Linked DNA regions of Homo sapiens: all the other regions are linked to region 1. Evidence: promoter capture Hi-C in human tissues and cell types (Jung and others, 2019). All regions are on one chromosome and are shown on one strand. The core of a region is centred on a gene start or on the middle of the fragment in contact, and the rest is flanking DNA. Distances in the headings are between cores, read along the strand shown.

Region 1 (2,921 bases), core at 117-2,616:
AGGCGTGATGATGCGCACCTGTGATCCCAGCTTCTCGGGAAGCTGAGGTGGGAGAATCGCTTGAACCTGGGAGGCGACGGTTGCAGTGAGCCCATATCGTGCCACTGCACTCCACTCCAGCATGGGAAACAGAGCCAGACCTTGTCTCTTAAACAAACAAACAAACAAACAAACAAAAGTCTAATGTCTACAGACATCTAGAAAGAGCTCCAGCTATGCCTCAGAGAGAAAAATCCCAGGAGTGGATGGGAAAATATCCATGCCCAGAAAAAAAAAAAAAAAAAAAAAAAGGAGAAAAGGTACAAACCATCAGGTAAGTTTCTGACCCAAGTTTACCAATCTTGTTTCTCATTTCACCTAAATGTAAACTAGGAAAACTACACAATCCACAATATAAATTATTGTTACTTGACTTGTGACTGGTCAGTCTCCAAATACTCCTTTCCCACAGCATGAGAAGGAAAATATGTTTCCTATCAGTCCTTCTCACAACAGAAGAGAGAAATGTGGTTTGTCACTAATGAAACACTGAAAATGTACCACTGTCACCAGTTAACCTAATCTACAATCTGCTGGTTAAAAGCAGGTCAGCCTGAAGCATATAAAAAGACGTCTGCCTTTCAAAACTGGCTAAAGCTGTCAAATCGGATCGCAGGTTTTACAAATACAATCACCTAAATTCAGCCCTGCTCCATAAACCAGAAAGCAGAACCAGCTTCCATAACTGGCCACGCAGCCTCCCACCCCACCCCACCCCCGCCCTTGACAGTGAGTGGGTCGGAGTAGCCACGATGCGCCCAAAGTGTTTAATTCTTCCAGAAATGCCGGCCTCCGGGAGGAATCTAGGTTTGAAACTTTCCCCAACAGGGCATTCCCCGGTGACATTTTGCTCCCTCGGGTGTGGAGCAAGTGTGGAGGACCTGGCGGCCCGAAAGTGCCCAGAGTGACCGACAAAGGTGGGAAACGGCAGGGCAGAGAGTGGGCCAGAAGAAGGGGCAGCAGACGCGCAAATTCACATCATTCGGGGTCACCCTGACCCCAAACCTCTGACTTCTGCCCCGAACTGGCGTTCCGCAGGGAGTCCAGGGTAGGCCCCAGAACTTTGGACCCAAGTCCCAGGCGGGGACCGGCCTGCGGGCGCGAGGGCTGGTCGAATCTGAGGGGGCCAGTGATCTTTGCAAGACCCCATAGGGACGGCGGGTTGACGGGGGGCCGTCCCTGGGTTCGCCTTCCCAGTCCGGACTCACCGCCCGCCGGAGCTGCCCCGGAGCCGCCGCTCGGAACATGGTCTCCGCTTCCGCCGCAACCTCGGCCTTACAGCAGCCCCGTGCCCGGCCAACTGGCGCCGCCTCAGCCAGTCACCTAATGCTCGCGAGACGCGCGAACGAGATAAGACGCCCTAGGCCGGGAGCACGAGCCCGCGGTTTCCGCCTGCCCATTGGGCGGCTGCGCAGCCAATAGACGGCGGGAAGTTAGGGGCTAGACTGGGAAGTGGGGCAAAGGTGAGGCTATTCCCCGGGGACCTTCGAGTAAGCCCGGGCCGCGGAGCGGCAGAGACAAAGCTGGCCACCCGCTGATGACCGAGCTCAGACTGTACTGTCTCACAGCCCCGCAATGGTCAGCACTGCTAGAGTGAACTTCAAAACTGAGCTGACCTCGGGGTAAGGTACGAGTGGAGCCTTGCCAATTCCAATTAGATACCTTTCCTATATGCCCCTATTTCCCCCTGTATTTCCCCATGGTAGCAATTGTCACATGGGTTGTAATAACCTAAGTACTTGTCTGTGTCACCCATCTGACTGAAGATCTGTAAGGGCAGAAAGTATGCCCTTTTTTTTTTTTTTTTTTTTGAGAGAGAGAGAGTCTCCCTCTGTCACCCTGGCTGGAGTGCAGTGGCGCGAGCTCAGCTCACTGAAAGCTCCGCCTCCCGGGTTCACTCCATTCTTCTGCCTCAGCCTCCCGAGTAGCTGGGACTACAGGCGCCCGCCACCACGCCCAGCTAATTTTTTTGTATTTTTAGTAGAGACGGGGTTTCACAGTGTTAGGCAGGATGGTCTCGATCTCCTGACCTCGTGATCCGCCCGCCTCGGACTCCCAAAGTGCTGGGATTACAGGCGTGAGCCACCGCGCCCGGCCAGTATGCCCTACTTTTAAATTTTGTGTCTACCTGCAACACCTAGCACAATGCCTGGTCCATACTAGGCATTCAATCAGTATGTGTTGAATGAATAAGCAAATGAATAAATGACTGCTAATGAGTCTGGACTTTAACACGAAATTTTTAAGAGGGAAGTGGTATGTTCAGAAATTGTCTCAATTCCCAATTCAGCAACAACCTACCTTTCCAATGTTATCTAGTCTATCAACAAATCCCGTTGACTCTACCTTCAAAAGATAACCAGAATCCAGCAATATCCTCCAACACCCCTTTGCTCCTCTGCTGGTATCACCTTCACTCAGGACCCTGTCCTCTCTCGCCTGGATCATTGCAAAGCCTCCTAACTGGTCTTTCTGTTTCTGCCCATGTTTCCAGAAGCCTCTTCTCCAAACTGATGGACTGATCATGACCTCTGCTCAAAGCCCTATGGTGGCTCCCTCTCCTCCCACTGCCCTCTTCTCTCACTGTTCCCCAGATACATAGGCCTTCTTGAGCACACAAGCCTGCTCCTCTCAGAGTTTTGCACTCTGGCTCTTCCCTCTGCCTGAAATGGCCTTCTCTTGTTACCCGCGTGGCGTACTTCCTCACTTCATTCAGGTCTCTGCTCAAAAAACACATTTGCAGAAAGGCCGGCCTTAGCCTCTCCACCTAAAATAGCACCCATGCCACTCCCAGACGCCCTATCACCTTGTTTGATTTTTTTTCTTGGCATTTATCACTGCCTAACAGGATGCACATGTTTGTTTATTGCTGATCTCACTGC
Region 2 (2,921 bases), core at 114-2,613, 350 kb after region 1:
ATTGATAAGGTGACATTTGATCAAAGACCTGAAGGAAGCAAGGAAGCCAGCTGTATGGATGTATGTGAGAAGAACCTTCTAGGAAGAGGAAACCTGAACTATAAAATCCTTGAGGTTTTGACAAGAGCAGCGACAGGCTGTGACTTACATTTTAGCAGGTCTGTTGTGGCTGCAGTGTTTAGAATATACAAGGGCAGAAACAAGACTAGTCAGAAGGCTACTATAACAATCCAGGTAAGAGCTGACTGAAGCTTTGGATCAGGGGAAAGCAGTGAAGTTAGAGAGACGTTGTCAAATTCTGAATATATTTTTAAAGCAAAGCTAACATTTGCAGTTAGATTGGATGTGAGGTGTAGGAGAAAGACAGATCAAGGATGACTTTAATGGTTTTGGCCTAAGCAACTAGAATAAAGTATTCATTTGCTGATATAGAGAAGACTATGAAATGAGGTAGGTTTTTGTGGCAAGAAGAAAGAGCAGGTTTGTTTTGGACATACTAAGTTTGAGTAAAGCTGAAGATATAAAATTGGTAGTCATTGGCAAGTAGAGGTATTTATAGCCGCAGAACCAGGGAGCTCACCAAGAGAATGTGAACATTAAAAATAGACAGGTTCAAAAAACAGGCCCTTAAAACATTCAAAAGTATCAAGAGGTCTGCAAGTTCTCAGGATAAACTAGAAATGAAGGTCAGTAATGCTCTAAAATACACCGTAAAACTATTCTGAGAAATCTGGACTAACTTCAAAAACTAAAATCAAAAAAGCCTTTTCTATTCTTTGATTAAATGAGCACTCTGAAGTTATCATTGATTATGTAAATTGAAATAGACACCTAGATTGATCATTATCTAAACACTGAAACTACAGAGAGATAACTGCACTGTTCACTATTATTGTACGTTCTATATTCCTATAATCCCATGGGTCAAGCTTCTCCATCTTTGAGACACTTAGTAGTAAAAGTATACGGACATATTCAGAATAGTTGCCCTTGAATAGCAAAGGATTATCTGCTAAAGCAGAGCTATCTCTGTGTCCTCGAACCGGACTCATCCGTCATCAGATGACACTCAAAGCTTGTGAGGTAATGATGTACTACACAGCTGTCTGATCTTCAGATGACACTTTGGAGGCTGATGATAAACTACAGGTCTGACAACTCACTTTCCATTTTAAGATATTTCTTGAACTTTTTCTTGTTGTGACAGGCAACCAAATTGATTAAGCCTAGTCATGGGATTTGACACTACAGCCAGTAGACTTCTATTTGTTGATTGCTATTGATTTTCTTTGATACTTCATTTAAAAATCAATAGTTGGAAAGAAAAATAGGCTTGGTTTACACATACTTAAACATACTATTGTATGCTGGAGGAGGCACAAGTTTGGCAGAGCTTTGGCATCCAATTATAAGAAGAGCTCTTAACAGGTGAAAGCAAGGGCTTTAGATCGATATGCAGTTTTCTTTCTCAATCAAGGAAAGTGGCTATAAATTAGGCTCATCAGTGTTATTTCCAAGGCTTTCATGAAGCAAACAACTTTAAACTTTTTTTGTCTTCCTTGGATTTACATTAAAAGATACATCACTAAAAGTTTTTCTTTTGCTTTTAAGGGTATTTAAGGTACCTGAAGTTCATCCGGGCTTTTATCTTTTTGGCTTTTTTTTTATTTTTTTGCCGCTCTTCTCCATCTTTCAAAGCTTCTGCTGGAGCTGTACTTTCAACCACAATGTCAATAATGTACTTCTTCAAGGAAAGATGCTCCTGCAAGATAAATAAATAAAATAATAATAATGAGGATGATCATTTAAATATAATATAGGATTGCTATAGACTACAGTGAGTTTAAGACATTTGATGAAACTAAAAGTAATCTCCGTAATACACTGGTTTCTACAATTGTTATGGAAAACGTTGAAGAAACTGTTTTACTTAAGGATTTTACATCACTGACTTCACTTCATTGCATATCAATTGTGCCAATGCTAAGGCTACATGGACATAAACCCTACCAAGATATCACACAAGTAGAGTAGGAAAGGTAAAATATATTCACAAAACTATAATATCATCTATAATACCAAGCCAATCAGAGATTTAGAGTGCCGTTAAGAACCCGAAGAGGGAAACAAGATCACTGTTCACTAGGCGGAAGAGGGGGAAACTTCAGCAAGGAAGCACCATATCTGCTATCCCTTGAAGAAAGGATAAAATGTGAACATACGGATATTAGGTAAGTATATTTGGCCTGTGAGTAGGGTGAGGCTGCAGGAAGGAAAAAGAAGGTCATCTCAGAAAACACATCCTAGAGATGAGAAAGTGGAATGTGGGTATCCACAGCAAAACTTTGGTTCAGCAAGAGCACATAGTGTTTGGTCAAGTTCCCCTCCTTATCCATCTTAGATTTTATGGCCTATCACTATAATCATTCTGTTGCCTGTGCTCAACTCTTTTCCCCCTTTCTTCTTTCATACATGCATGGCAAAATCCCAATCCTAAATCCAACTCTCTCCCTATTCTGAGCCTATGTCTGAAGCAGATTAATGTGGCTATAATTACAAACTTTAAATTTATGAAATTACACCTCAAGTGGCCTCTAGTATTCCCAGGCAGTCAAGCAACTTTACATTAGTTAATCTACACACTTGCCTTGCTAAAAATTATTTTAGACTCTCTCCTTAAATCTCCAATATCCGTCATCTCCTAACCCCATCTCTCAGTTCATGACTATGTTTATTTGATTAAGGAAAACAGCATTATTCAGACGAGAGCTTCCACACACTCCCACAGCTAAATGTATCAAACAATGTGCATATGTGCCCGTACACTCTCTTCCCTCCTGTTATAATATATGAACACCTGTTCCTATCTAAGAGCAAGTCCTCCAAATATAAACTGGATCCCATTCCTTGTCTCGCATTTT
Region 3 (2,921 bases), core at 171-2,670, 340 kb after region 1:
GTTAAAAATATTTAAAAATTAGATTTAACATTAGATTTCACCTCAAAGTTCTGTCAGAATCCTGTAATATTTGTTAAAACTTATGTCTTTCCCTGCCTCTCCTCTGTTCAACTTAGGTATCCTACTCCACGGTCAGGCTCTCTGGTCAATTCTAACACAAAAATTGACGCTATGTCAATTCTTGTACCAATGTAAATTTAACACAGACCTGTGTGTTTATCCATATCTAAATTTATATCTAAATATCCACGAAGGATTGGTTCCAGGATCCCCATGGATACCAAAATCTGCAAATGCTCAAGTCCCTTATATAAAAAGACATAGTACAGTTAGCCCTCCATATCTGCAGGCTCCGCACGTGGAACCCACAGATACTAAGGGTTAACTCTGAATGTAGATACACAAACACACACACGCACCCCCCATCCTCTCATTCCTCTCTCTGCCCCATTTCAGAATATGTTCTTGATAGTCAATTATTGTTAAAAATAGGAAGTCTATTAGCCTAGTGATTACCACTGGACACTGAAGCTGATGTCCAAGCTGCTAATACTGCAGACAGAGGTCCAGCTATTATACAGTGAAAAACTATGAATTCCCATGCTGCTCTTTCAGCTCTCTCTCCTCTCCTATTTCTACCTCTACACAAACTGCAGCTCAATGGCAATATATTACACAAATCTAGTTCCTTTATCTTCATCCTTCTGTACAAAAACACAGTCCAATGATTAGAACTTTATTGCCTATCTTGCTTTTCTTAGTCCTCTTTGCCAAACTATGAATTCTTTCAACCTAAATTGCAGCAGCAAAGTTCTGACTCACAGCGACTCCTTTTCCAAATTAAATCTGCCTATCAAAACTTTCAAGCAACCACATGTACTCTCACAGTTCTTCATCACATATAGGTTATATAGGTCCCTACTAATTAATTTTAGAACACATATCCAGTTTAAAATATATGCTAGTTCTGGCTTTGCCTGTAGAACATTTCCCTCATCCCACTGCTTGGAGAAAAATCAAGTATCTTTAGTTTTAATTCATCTTGAGTCAGGTCCTAAAAGCATTATCTTCACTACCTGTATCATGAAACCTGGGGCAGACCATCATGCCTTGAGCCTGAATTCCAATTTATGATAGTAATATGCAATTTGTTTCTCCCTTCTTAAAAGGCCAAAGAAATCTTAGTGATAAGAACCACAAAGCTCACAATCCAATCTCATCTAATTCTTCCACAAATTTTTACTGGACACCTACCATGTGCAGAAAACTAAAAACAAAAATCCTCTTGAAATTTATATCCTAGTAGGAGAAAGCTAATGTGTAAATATATAAACAGTTGAAATACACAGTACTTTAGATGATGGTTAAGTGCATTGGTAAAAAATTAAGTTGGGAAAAGAGACGGTTGAAGTGGAGGTTATTATTTTATTAAGGCCTTGACAATTTTTGCTTCCAGCCATGATTGAGTAACTAGTATCATATTGTCCTTTCTACTACAAGCAACTTAGAAATTCTTAAATATATGATTTTTTTTCATGTATGGACAACTGTCAGCACAGGACTGGAATCCCTCAGAAAAAGAAAGCAAGTGAAATAAGTCCTATGATTGTCTCACCCTTTGTGCCTGAAGGCACTTTCCAGATAGCTACATATCGGGGAAGGGTTAAGTAACCAAAACAGAGCATACATGTAAGTCTGAGCTAAGAAAAAGTTGGAATTTGTGGGGCAGAGTAGCAGAGTGAAAAGATGTATGCAGAGAAGGTCTACAAATCTTCAGAGAGGCCCCACTGAGTCTCTGGCCATGTTAATCTGCTGAATGAGCAGGCAAGAATCTCCAAAACTGGGGAAAAAATAACTATCCAGGAACTGTAAGCTGAACAAGAACAATTACTGGAGCTTTCATAAAGCTGGGAAATGTTTGCATTTCAGCTGTCATATTTGAGGATACTCATTGAACATCCTAGTCATTCTGTAGAGAGTTCACAAAGGACATACCTTAGAAGGAGGAACAATAGAGCCCTAGGATTAAAGGTTACTCTATGTCAAACAAAGTTTAAAACCGTATTTTCAGAGACAAAAGCAAACGTACAAGTTTAAAAAATGCATTACAGAATTAAATTCTACATTCTCTTAAAGAAAACAATAAAACCCAGACATAGAGCAATGTAGCATTTATACTGTCCAATATATGAAAAAAATAAAATACTAATAACAAAATTACTAAGCATAAAAGGCAGAAAATATAAGCCATACTCGGAGAAAAATCAGCGTGAAAAGGAATGACAGATATAATGGACTTCAAGTCAATTCATAAACATATTAAATGAAAACATAAAAAAAAAAACAAGAAATATCGAGAAACTGAAACTATAAAATCAACCAAATGGAACTCCTGGAGATGAAAAATATAACACATGAAATAAAAACGTCACTGGATGATTTTAAAAGCAAATGAGACACAGTAGAAAAAAAAGATCACATAGGACACAGAACTATCTAAACTAGAGAGAAAAAAGACTGACCTATGGGACAATATAAAATGTTCTGTATTAAGTACAACTGGAATCAGAAAATAGAAGAAAAATAGACTGAGGCAGAAAAAACTTTTTCAAGAAACAATGGCTAAAATTTATCCAAATTTGGGGTAAAATATAAACTCACAGATTCAAAAAGCTAAATGAATATCAAACAGAATAAACACAAAGGAAACCATAACAAGAAGTGTTCCCAACCTGCCTGGGCAGCACAGTGATAGAGGAGCTAGAAAGAAATTATTTAGGCAGATAGTAAGAATAAGGAAGTCCTCAGTAACATTTCCTTTTAATAAAAAAGCAGCCCCAAAATCATTTACTTTCTAAGAAAAAGCAGCCTGACAAATCCAGCTGCAGGAGTAGATAAGCAAGCTGGAAGCTTGCATAGGT
Region 4 (2,921 bases), core at 229-2,728, 300 kb after region 1:
CCTTGGGGCCTTTTGGAGGATGGAGGGTGGGAGGAGGGAGAAGACCAAGAAAAATAACTAAGGAGTCTCAATACTTGGGTGATAAAATATTCTGTACAACAAATCCCCATGGCACAAGTTTACTACCTATGTAACAAATCTGCACTTGTAACCCTGAACTTAAAAGTTAAAAAACAAATAACAAAAACAAAAACAAACAAATGAAGACTCAATAGATTCACAAAGATAGATGTCATACAATGTGTATTCTCTGACCACAACAGGATGAAGTTAGAAATTTGTAACAAAAAAACAAACCTGAAAAATTCACAAATTTGTGAAAAATAACGCATTTTTACACAATCAATGAATCACAAAAGTAGTCAAAGAAAAATCAGAAAATACAGACAAATGAAAATGAAAGCACAACATATCAAAATGCATGAGACACAGTGAAAGAAGGGGGACATTTATAAACATTTATATTTAACAAAGTAGAAAAGGAAGAAAAATCTAAACCCAAAGCTTTATTATTTCCTTCAGAAAGAATAATAAAGACTAGTACAGGGATAAATGAAACAGAATTTTTTAAAATAGAGAAAAATCAATGAAACCAACAGCTGGTTCTTCCATAAGACAAACTAAACTGACAAACCTTTAGCTAGATTGACTATGAAAAGATACTAATTGCTAAATTCAGAAATGAAAGTGGGCACATTACTACTGATCTTACTACTTATGAATACATAAGAAGGATTCAAAGAGAGTACTATTAACAACTGTATGGCACTAAATTGGATAACCTACACAAAACAGACCACTTCCTAGAAACCCAAAATATGCCAAAATCTAATGATGAAGAAATAGAAGACCTAAAAGACATACAATTAAGTAGATCAGTAATCAAAATCTCTCGTTGAAGAAAAGCCTTGGACTTGATGGATTCACTGGTGAATTCTACCAAGCATTTAAAGAAGATGTAATAGCACTTTGGGAGGCTGAGGGGGGGCGGATTGCTTGAGCCCAGGAGTTCAAAAGCAGCCTGGGCTACGTGGTAAGACCCCCTCCCTACAAAAAATTACAAAAATTATCCGAGTTGGTGGCACACTCCTGTAGTCCCAAGCTACTTGGGAGGCTGAAGTGGGAGGATCCTTTGAACCCGGGAGGCAGAGATTGCAGTGAGCTGAGATCGCGCCACTGCACTCTAGCTTGGCAACAGAGCAAGAGTCCATCTCAAAAACAAATGTGTCTGTATGTGTATATATACATACACACACACACAGACACACACACACACACACACACACACACACACACACACACAAATGAGGCCAGGCACGGTGGCTCACACCTGTAATCCCAGCACTTTGGGACACCGAGGTAGGCAGATCACGAGGTCAGGAGATTGAGACCATCCTGGCTAACATGGTGAAACCCCATCTCTACTAAAAATACAAAAAACTAGCTGGGCACGGTGGCACACACCTGTAATCCCAGCTACTCGAGAGGCAGAGGCAGGAGAATTACTTGAACCCGGGAGCTGGAGGTTGCAGTGAGGTGAGATCCCACCATTGCACTCCAGCCTGGGTAACAGAGCGAGATTCCATCTCAAAAAAAAAAAAAAAAAGAATATACAAATGTCCAAAAAGCACACGAAAAGATGTCCAACATCACTAATCGTTAGGTAAATGCAATCCGAAACTAAAATGAGATACTATCTCAACTATATGGATGGCTACTATCAAAAAAAGCAGAAAATAACAAGTACTGGTGAGGACATGGAGATATTGTTACTCTTGTGCAGAGCTGGTGAGAATGTAAAAAATGGTATAGCTACTGTGGAAAACAGTGTGCTGGTTCCTCAATATATTAATATTAAAAATAGATTTGCCATATGATCTAGCAATTCTACTTCTGGATATATACAGAAAATAATTAAAAACAGGGACTCAAAGAGATATTTGTATACCCATGTTCACAGCAGCATTATTCATAATTGCTAAACAGTGGAAGCAATCCAAATGTCTAATGACAGATTAATGGATAAGCAACACATATAGTGGAGTATTATTCAGCCCTAAAAAGGATGAATATTCTTATCCTTGGTGCAACATGGATAAATCTTGAGGATATTATGATAAATGAAATAAGCCTATCACAAAAAGACAAATACTGTATATTTACACTTAACATGAGTTACCCAGAGTAGTCAAAATCATAATAATAGAAAGTAGAATGGTGGTTGCCAAGTGCTAGGAACAGGAGGTATGGGAAATTATTGTTTAATGGGTATAGTTATAGTTTTATAAGATGAAAATAGTTCTGGAGATGGATGATGTAATAGCTACACAACAATATGAATGTATTTAATATCATTAAACTGTATTAATAATGAGTAAGATAGTAAATTTTGCTATATGTATTTCATCACCATTTTAAAAAATGAAAAAAAGTACAGTCGTAGCCATCTATGTCTCCTAAATATAGTATAGATATGAAGTACTGATGACTTAATTTGCTTTCCTTGTTGATATATATAGTTTTTAGGAAGATGTATATGGAAATTTGAATTTAAGTAGCATTACTACCTTTTTGGGCCTCTATCATTTTAATGTAAAAAGCTCATACTGTATCAAAATTACAAGTTTTCAATCATCATAAGCATTTCCTCACAGCATTAAAATGTCTATAAACATAATTTTTAAAAATCCAATTAAGTAGTTTGGAATTTCAAAAGTAAAACAAATTGGGCACTTTTAACTTCCTTTTCCTTGTATTATCTGATCATATCCAATATTTTCTCCTACTGATGAATGATCTTGCTCATATTAATTTATACAAGGTATTGATTTATATATTACATGAGCTCTTTATCATTTTTGTTGTAAATATTTCCACCCCTCTTTTTTCTTTATGGTATTTAACCAAGCATAAAGTTTTCA

Evidence for each region. The method cuts DNA at HindIII sites, captures the fragments that hold promoters and counts their contacts. A contact is called where the count stands out against the background at its distance.
Region 2: a contact is called between a fragment that was not itself captured here and the fragment with the promoter of ETFA in region 1, in 1 of the 25 tissues and cell types used here (mesenchymal stem cells).
Region 3: a contact is called between a fragment that was not itself captured here and the fragment with the promoter of ETFA in region 1, in 1 of the 25 tissues and cell types used here (dorsolateral prefrontal cortex).
Region 4: a fragment that was not itself captured here is called in contact with the fragment with the promoter of ETFA in region 1 in 3 of the 25 tissues and cell types used here (mesenchymal stem cells, mesendoderm cells and thymus).

What each region holds. Positions count from the first base shown.
Region 1 is chr15:76,310,103-76,313,023 of GRCh38, forward strand. It overlaps ETFA (electron transfer flavoprotein subunit alpha), which reads right to left and starts at 1,367. Exons shown (of 12, transcript NM_000126.4): 1 at 1,248-1,367. The coding sequence starts at 1,286. RefSeq lists enhancers at 619-1,119, 1,120-1,620, 1,830-1,879, 1,940-1,989. The HindIII fragment of the contact is 24,969 bases long and covers 1-2,921 here.
Region 2 is chr15:76,664,028-76,666,948 of GRCh38, forward strand. SCAPER (S-phase cyclin A associated protein in the ER) reads right to left here. Exons shown (of 32, transcript NM_020843.4): 21 at 1,626-1,762. Among named protein-coding and RNA genes, the nearest start is that of MIR3713, 79 kb to the left of the region's middle. The HindIII fragment of the contact is 5,919 bases long and covers 1-2,921 here.
Region 3 is chr15:76,645,857-76,648,777 of GRCh38, forward strand. The region is part of intron 21 of SCAPER (S-phase cyclin A associated protein in the ER); the gene reads right to left. Among named protein-coding and RNA genes, the nearest start is that of MIR3713, 61 kb to the left of the region's middle. The HindIII fragment of the contact is 3,243 bases long and covers 1-2,921 here.
Region 4 is chr15:76,614,231-76,617,151 of GRCh38, forward strand. All of the region lies in intron 22 of SCAPER (S-phase cyclin A associated protein in the ER), which reads right to left. Among named protein-coding and RNA genes, the nearest start is that of MIR3713, 29 kb to the left of the region's middle. The HindIII fragment of the contact is 9,427 bases long and covers 1-2,921 here.